2 separate regions of the Homo sapiens genome follow, and region 2 is linked to region 1. Evidence: promoter capture Hi-C in human tissues and cell types (Jung and others, 2019). All regions are on one chromosome and are shown on one strand. Each heading gives the region's core, a stretch centred on a gene start or on the middle of the fragment in contact. The rest is flanking DNA. Distances are from core to core; before and after follow the strand shown. Region 1 holds the start of ZNF626 (zinc finger protein 626). Region 2 overlaps LOC124904663 (a long non-coding RNA gene).

The links. The method cuts DNA at HindIII sites, captures the fragments that hold promoters and counts their contacts. A contact is called where the count stands out against the background at its distance.
Region 2: a contact is called between a fragment that was not itself captured here and the fragment with the promoter of ZNF626 in region 1, in 1 of the 25 tissues and cell types used here (hippocampus).

What each region holds. Positions count from the first base shown.
Region 1 is chr19:20,658,853-20,663,334 of GRCh38, reverse strand. ZNF626 (zinc finger protein 626) reads left to right here and starts at 1,764. Exons shown (of 4, transcript NM_001076675.3): 1 at 1,764-1,891. The coding sequence starts at 1,889. RefSeq lists a silencer at 1,570-1,639. The HindIII fragment of the contact is 1,409 bases long and covers 1,359-2,767 here.
Region 2 is chr19:20,411,979-20,416,460 of GRCh38, reverse strand. It overlaps LOC124904663 (a long non-coding RNA gene), which reads left to right. Exons shown (of 2, transcript XR_007067167.1): 2 at 810-1,440. It also overlaps the pseudogene ZNF826P. Among named protein-coding and RNA genes, the nearest start is that of MIR1270, 15 kb to the right of the region's middle. The HindIII fragment of the contact is 3,294 bases long and covers 558-3,851 here.

The DNA.
Region 1 (4,482 bases), core at 515-3,014:
TTTGTAGCTGCATTGACCAAGCAGAAGAAAGAACATCAGAGTTTGAAGACCACCTTGCCAAAATAAGGCATGCAGACAAGATTAAACAAAAATGAATAAAAAGGAACAAATGAAGCCTTTGAGAAATATGTTCTGTGCAGGAAACACATGAGGGGAGAAGAAAAGACACGCACACAATACCTTTAAGGGTAAACAAGCTTTATCCCAGGTAAATGGCAATGCATATATAATAAGCAAATTGATATAATAAGAGCATTGCAATGGGAAGGGGAGAAGAGAAAAAATATATATCTTTACACTCACCAGACTATGGAGGATTCATCAGCAGACCAGGAAGCAACAGCCTGGGCTCCAGAGTCGGCCACCCATCCCTGTACAGACAAGGAGAGGTCTTTGGAGCTTTGGTGCAGTCTGGGATCCTAGCTCTTTTTGTAACAAGTTGTTTGGCATGAGGCCCAGTTGCAACTGGGCTCTTTGCAACTGGGCTCAAGGAACACAAAAAAGTCAACTTGTTTTTTTTGCGATTGGCTATTGTTTTTCAATAACTAACGTATAGGAATAGATTAAAATAGAGATTTCTCCAAAACAATCTGTGCCCAGTTCTCTTTGCCCAGCTTGGCCTCAGTCCCATTCAGCCAGAAGATGGCAGCTGCGCTGACAGCCAGGCCCCCAGAAGTCCTGCCTCTTCACTGCGCTGTGACTGTGCCCTGGCCTGGAGCCCACTTTGGGCAGCTCTGCACCTGCAGCATGGCGTCTCTCCCAGATTGTGCAGGGACCAGGGGAAGGTCGGCAGGTGAATGCCTCAAGGGGCTCACATAACCTGTTCCAGGACTTGGTGACCATTGTTTGTGTCCATGTTCAACTGAGTTCAAATTTAATATTTAACTTTTCCTCCACAAATTCCCCTGTCTTGATGAATCATCTCTGTCTAGGCAAGATGAAGCCCTTAGGCCGTTACACAACCTCCGCCTCCTGGGTTCAAGCGATTCCCCTGCTTCAGCCGCCGTAGCACCTGGGACTACAGGTGTGTACCACCACACCTGGCTAATTTTTTGTGTTTTTACTAGAGATGAGATTCAACATGTTGGCCAGGCTGGTCTTGAACTCCTGACCTGAAGTGATCCACCCACTTTGGCCTCCCAAAGTGCTTGGATTACAAGCGTGCACCAGCGGACTGGCCCTAAATGATTTCTTTGTCTCTTGTAACAGTTTGAAATTACTTAAAGGTTGTTTCAAATTGAAAAAATAAAAAGAATGTAGATAAAAATAAAATATAAAAAGTTAAAAAATTACATTAGATTACAAAATATGTATGTAAATCTCGAGAGGTCAAAAATGACAAATTTGATTTTTTATAAGGTTTTATCAAAATTACCTTTAGTATTGATAATACATTATTGCCAAAGTAAAAGTTGATTTTCTCTTGAACAAAAATTTTATGTATTATTAATATGAGAGCAAAATACTTCTGTTCACCTTTTGAATACATTCAAAAAGAGAGAGAGTAAAGAAAAGATAGAATTCTCCCATGCTCTGGGGTGGGCCTGGCTCAGCTCAGGAAGGAAGCCCTGCCTGAAAAGGCTGCAGCTTAGGCTGTCACTCTTTCTTCACTCAGCTCAGCGTCTGATCACATCTACTGTCACTCAGGGCCTCAGGGGGCGGGGCCTTAAGCATTATCCAATCAGGGATGGTGGGCTGGAAACCATCCAATCAGGAACGCAGCTGGAGCGAAGAGGACGGTTTCCGGGTTTGGTGCGGCCTTTGTCTCTCGCTGCAGTCAGAGCTCCAGGTCTGGTTCTTCTCCTAAAGGCCCAGGCTGTGTGGCCCCGTGTCCTGCAGGTATTGGGAGATCCACAGCTAAGACACCGGGACCTCCTGGAAGCCAAAAATGGTGAGAGTGAGGGTCCGACATCCCGAGAGAGGAGAGGGACTGGTTGGAACCGGTGAAAAGTGGCTGTGGCGGGACTCAGGCCTCCCCGCAGTCAGCTCCACAGTCTGCTCCCCCAGTTCTCCTTGCTCAGCTCGGCCTCAGTCCTGTTCAGCCATAAAATGGCAGCTGCGCTGACAGCCGGCACCCGGGCGTCTTGTCTCTTCACTGCGCGGTGACTACCCTGGCCTGGAGCCCTCTCTGGGCAGCTCTGCACCCGCAGCGTGGCGTCTCTCCCAGATTGTGCAGGGACCAGGGGAGGGTGGGCAGGGGAGAATCCTGACTCGGGGTGCGGGTTCATGAATGGGAAGAGCTTTGTTCCTTTGGGTTTACAGTTTCTCTTTTCTCCTATTAAAAATGTATGGGGCCGGACGCTGTGGCTCACGCCTGTAATCCCAACGTTTTGGGAGGCCGAGGCGGGCGGATCACTTGAGGTAAAGAGGTGTTAGGACAACTAAGTTCCTTTTAAATGACTCAACTTTCTGGTCATAAGTTGTAAAAGTTGTAAATCAACCCTACCTCTTCTTCTACCCCCTTTTCCTTTTCTCGCAAATCGCGCATTTACTTTATTTGGAAAAAGTTTGGGTCTAAGCTTACCAGGATCAGCTTAGATTGTGCGGTCTGATCCCAGCCAATAGGGGATGGAAACAAAAACAGGAACTGCATTAGGGTTCAAAACCCCTTTCTTGCTGGGCGCGGTGGCTCAAGCCTGTAATCCCAGCACTTCGGAGGCCGAGGCAGGTGGATCACGTGGTCAGGAGTTCTAGACCAGCCTGGCCAACGTGGTGAAACCCGTCTCTACTAAAAATACGAAAACTATCGGCGTGTTGGCACGTGCCTGTAGTACCAGCCACTTGGGAGGCTGAGGCACGAGAATTGCTTGAACCCGGGAGGCGGAAGTTGCAGTGAGCTGAGATCCAATCATCGCGCTCCAGCCTGCGTGACAAAGCGAGACTCCGGCTCAAAAAAAAGAAAAAAAAAGTAAGCATCTTAAAAATTCCTTTATGTAAACATTGTGAGTAATTTCACTGGAGTTTCTAACACTTAGTTTCAAAAACCAAGTGAATAACTGATGTGGACATTAAAGCTTGAACCTAGTGACTCCAAGCTAAGGCTAATATTAAGCCTGCAACAGGGTATTTTTTTTTTTTTTTTTTTTTTTTTAGACACAGTGTCGCTTGTGGTGCCCAGGCTGGAATGTAATGGCGTGATCTCGGCTTACTGGGTTCAAGCGATTCTCCTACCTCAGCCCCACCAGTAGCTGGGATTACAGGCATGCACCATCACGCCCGGCTAATTTTGGTGTTTAGTAGAGACGGGTTTTCTCCATGTTTGTCAGGCTGGTCTTGAACTCTCTGCCTCAGACCCGCTTCGGCCTCCCAAAGTGCTGGCATTATCGGTGTGAGCCACCGCACCCGGCCAACAGGAGGTTATTAAAGGCCCTGTTATTTTTTTCTGGGGAGTCTCCCTTGCGGATATCTCAAGACTGCTCACCCCAGCCACGGAAGGAGCCTTCATTCTGAAAGAAGCTACAAAGCCTTGGAAAGCTGGGGCCCCACAGGCAGATGCAGTCAAGATTAAGATGAAAGGAAACTGGGAGGGTCTTACTGGTAATGAAGTTGTTATGGTTTTGAGGCACTTTTTACGCTTTCTAAAATAAGAATATTAGATTTATGTAAAAAAAAAATGAATTCCTAAGAAGTATTGCAACAGGAAGAAGTACCAGCTAACTAAAAAATCTTCATGGGTTGCAAAAATGTAGGCAGAAAAGGGCTTTTCTCCTACATTGGAGATGGCTTATCTCCATCCCTCACTAGCCTGAGGGATGGAGATAAACTTAAGTAAAGTTTGATTAAGAAATATTTTAGGCTGAGCGCCATGGCTCAGGCATGTAATCCCAGCAGTTTGGGAGGCCTAGGCGGACGGATCACCGCAAGTCAGGAGCTTGAGACCAGCCTGGTCAACATGGTGATAACCCTGTGTCTACTAAAAATACAAAAATTAGCTGGTAGTTGTGGTGGCCACCTGTAATGCCAGCTACTTGGGAGGCTGAGGCAGGAGAATTGCTTGAACCATGGAGACAGAGGTTGCAGTGAGCTGAGACGGTGCCAAGGCACTCCAGCCTGGGTGGCCGAGCGAGACTCCATCTCAAAAAAAAAAAATTATTTTGACCACTGAAGACAAATTCAGCTGAATTTCTTAATGAGAAAAAGGAGAAAATGTACAGAGTGTGTGTCTGGCTGTGTGATAGGTAAGAAAAGAGAGCACCATCTAAGTCATAATGAGAAAGGCGTTTCTTTCCGTATACTGTTCCTGGAGCACACAAAAGGTGGAGAATTTTATTAATCACAAATATTTTCCAGGATTTTCTATGTGTTTCATCTTTCCCCATCTCTTTGTTCTATGCATTTCTTCCATTTGGCTTTTCCTGGGCTGCATCTTTTATATGAAACCGGTAAACATAACTACAATGTTTTGCTGAGTTCTGTAAGTAGCTGTACCAAATTATTGAACTTCAGGGAGGTTTTGGGAGTCCTCAGTTTTCAAACAGTAGC
Region 2 (4,482 bases), core at 955-3,454, 250 kb after region 1:
AAAATGTGAGCTGTGCTCTGGGCTGTGCCTCAGTGGCACATGGTAGAGGTCAAGAGAGCATACTAGCAACCAGGAGAAAGCAAGCAGGAGTGCTGTAGCCCAGTGGCAGGGAGTACAGAACCACAGCTCTAAAATGTAAATAGCAAAAAAGAACCCTATTCAACCATTTTTGTAGCAGAGTAAGAGGCTACCTTCAGCAGGCACCTGGCTTCAAGCTGCTAAACTACCTCCTGTTATGAAGATGTGAAAAGTTTATTTGTCATTGAATATAAGCAATTAGTATACACAGATGGCCTCTTCAATCTCCAGGTGAATTTAGGATGAACTATGTATGACATGGTGCTGGAAATTCTTCTGCTTGGGGACTAATATTGGTGACCATCTTTCTATCTTTGCAGTCTCTTAAGCAGACTGACCATGATGCATGTCACATTCAAGTTCAATTGTGTAATAAAACCATTTTCTTTCTGTTCTATTATTGTGGAGTTTCTCTGGAGCTGGATAAAATCTGTCTTTTAATTATTGTTTCCAAACACTGTCTAGAATTACCAGACATGATATAAACACAAATAAGGTGCCAACCGGAACTTACTCTAGAGGGGACTATTCCTCTCAGGCTTCCAGTCAACTCACACTTGTGCAGCAAAGTGCATGCTGTCCCCTAAATATGAAGGCAGAATTGTGTCCCTGCCTATTTGGTATCTAGAGTCCTTTACAGTCACTGCTAGAGAGACTAGATCAGATTTCTACAAATTTCACAGGGAAGCAATCAATAATTTTTTCTCTTTCAATGACTCTTGTATTTTCAGACCTTAAACAGATTCAGAGACCGTGGGGCCAACAAACTGAACTGGAGTAACATGTGAATTGAGTAGACATGTAGACAAGAAAGTCTCCACTATCCCCTTTCTACTCTTGCTGAAATGCTCACTAATGTGCAAGTAACACCTGCTGCTACTCCTGCCATTCAGGACCTAAATCTGTAGCTCCATATTTTGAATCCAGATCTTGAGATTTGGGAAATAAAAAACTTTTATCTAAAAAGTGCAAGCACTTTTGGTTATCAAACTCAGAGAGATGTTAAAATGAAAGAGCAGTTAACATCTTTCTCTCCCCTTTGAACTATGTATTCATCCCTTGAAACTGTTCACTATTGCCACAAGTAGCTATAAAGTAAATTAACAATGCCACATTGGATACTATATTCTATACCCTAAACAATAATGATATATATCTAATCAATAATCAATATTATTTATCTAAATAAATAAAAACTTCTGACAAACAACTTTGTATCAGACCACTCTATGTCCCTCTCTTGTCTTTACAAATCTTGTAACTGCTGCTAATCAAAGTGTAGATTTCAGGCAACTTGAATCTTTGCTCCCTGGTTATAATCCTTAAGCTTAAACCAAATAAACTGTCTACTTATATTCTTGATATGTCAGCTTTTTTTATTTAGACTTATCACTTAGAATGTTCTAGAGCAGCCTCTATGAGGGTACTCTCCTTTGATTGTACTCCATTTGCTGTAACACCAAAGGATGCAGAGCCAGGTTGATCCTATCTAGAATCTACAGATTAGGTCCGGCCTCTGCCTGGGATTTAAAAAGTGCCAGACTTTGGATATGGAATGTACAGAAAATTAACAAAAGTTATTTTCTGCATTGTAAGTTGTCAAGATAGACATCTTACAGCCCCCATTTCAGAGTGTGGCATTTTGAGTTTTTTTACATCTTTTTCATTGACCTGCTACAGTGATGTGAGAGGCTCCAGGAGGAAATAGAATCTGATGGCAGAATCTGTAAGTGTAAATAATCATCTTAGGAGTGAGAGATCAGGCCACAAAGTATCCAGAGCCATGACCACAACTATGTTTACCTGTAAAATGGGATACTGGAGTAGAGTATTTTTGTTCTGTCTTTTACCCAAGTGCTAGCATATCAGGACAGGTGACCCAGGTTCTGGGGCTCCACCAACGCAGTTTTATTTTCTATTTAGAATCAGCCTGAGTCGCTCCAGCCTGGCTTATCATTGGGCCATCAGCCCTGGGTCACTGGGAATTCCCTCACAATCACCTAGGTTTCTTTGAGGCATTTGAGGATGTCCAGAGTAGAATTGTGTCAGGCTGACAAGAGTGGTTAATTCTGCTTCTGTCTCAGTGTAAAGAAAAATGAGTCATTCTGTGTTTGTTCAACCCATCATACAAGAGTTGTCTTTGGTTTGTACAGGGATGAGAGTTTCTCCAGTTTCCTGGTACTTGGATGATAAACAAGGAGATCTGGAGACCCAAGTAGATAAACTAGTTGCTTCCATTTCTTATGGTCATTAAAAAAAAATACATGAAGCAGTCATGGTACCTACCACCTGAAGGGATATTAATGAACAGTAGAATTGTTATAATTAATTTTTCTTTTTTTGAGATGGAGTCTTAGTCTGTCACCCAGCCTGGAATGCTGTGTCATGATCTTGGCTCACTGCAACCTCTGTCACCTGGGTCTAAGCGATTCTCCTGCCTCAGCCTCTCAAATAGCTATGATTACAGTGCCTCCCACCACAGCCAACTAATTTTTGTATTTTTAGTAGAGAAGAGGTTTCACCATCTTAGTCAGGCTGGTCATGAACTCCTGACTTCATGATCCATCTACCTCAGCCTCCCAAAGTGTTGGTATTATAGGTGTAAGCCACTGTGCCCAGCCGTATAATTTCTGTTCTTTTACCTTCGTAAGTGTACACACTGATTTTCTTATAAAATTACCCTAGAAAACCTTAAGAGAATTGTTTAAATTGCATATTAGTATACAGTATAAAGTTGACAGAGCAGTGCTAGAAAATATTAAAATTACAGAAACTCTGGGGTTTTTCTTTTAGGTAAGATTAGAAAAAAAGAAAACTGTTAGTACCACAGTGGCATAGAGAACAGAATTCTATAGGATCCTCACCTTGTCCCAGACATGTTCAGATTCACCCTTTTTGGAGGCCTTATTTAGGTCTGACCCTACTCTGGAGTCTTGCCTCACAGAACTGATTAGAAGATATCAGAGTTTTGGCTGGTGAATCCAATTTCCTGAAACCCAAAAGCAGATAAATGGGAAAAATAAAGTATGTATTGTAGAGTCTTAGTTTTTAAATTTTCTGTTAAAACCAGTGTTGGCAGAGACATTCTATTTAGCAACTTGTTTTCTATTCCTGCAGATCCAGTAGTTGCTCCACAAGTCACAGAAAAGTAAACATAAACAGAATAAAATTTTCTCTAAACTACAATAAACTCTTCTATATCTCTTTCATCTGTATATATTTAGCTTTTATTCTTTACAATGTTTAAAAAAATTTGGTAACAGAGAAACAGAAGAGGCAGTAAAAATTCTCTGCCCTTTATCTAAATCCTGGAAATTATTAAACCCTGAGTACTAGCTCCAAGAATGTTACAAGAATTAAATCACATAATATGTTATGCCCAGCATAGTGCTCTGTATCATACTCTTGAGCACAAAGTACCTGCTTAATAAACATTGCATTTGTACATGTGTACATGTTTTTTAAATGCAGACTTATCCAGACATTGCTGCCTTCTGTTTCCTCTGTAAACTTTAAAGACCCAGCAAAGAATATAAAACTTTAGCATAGATGTGTTGTCCTTATTTGTACCAGAAGTATTTGGTTGTGACAAGAGTTCTAAGTGTAAGGGACCCTCTGCTATTCCTGCTTTCTCTAATGCTAATAATGAGCCAAGGAGAAGCAACATCAGCATTGACAGGGGACTTGTTTAAAACACCCATTTATGGACCCTTTTCAAACCTACAGAATCACATAAAGTGGAGTCAAAATTACCAAGTGATTTATAAGCTTCTTAAAGCTTGAGAGGCAATGCTTAGCTTAGTGGTTATCAGCCCAGGCTTCTCATTAGGATCACATGGCCAATTTGCAGAAATCTCTTGTGCCTTCCCCACCGGTTCTGTTTATTGTTCTGGGTGGAAGTATCCATGTTGTTTTAATGAAGGGCTTCACGTGACTCTAAGGGGAGGCCAGAATCAGGTATGAGGGTCTCAAAATACTTTCATGAGAGTTAAGAAGTTCCACCTTTGCACTAAGTGGTGCGCACAGGACCTGTTCTGTTTGGTTTTGGTAGGGGCAGGTCAGTGTGGCACATATTTCCATTACTGTAGCAGAAATTGCTGGTGTCTGTGGCAGAAAGGGCACCAGAGGACATGAAAGGAGAAACTTATATTTTTATCTTCATGGAGCATCTCATTGTTCTTGAATCTTTTTGTTGTAAAAAACAGAAATGGGTGGACTTTTTCTGTCTTTTTCTGCCAGTTGATGTCATGCTAGCAGGTAAACATGTGGTGCTGACACATTTAAAGGCATAGTCTCAAGATGCAGGGGTAATTTGGCCAGAGAATCTCATCTGACAAGGAATTCCAGAGGAGGAGGTGAAAAAAAAAAAAAAGGCTTCTCTTCAGGTAAACATGTCTCAGATGA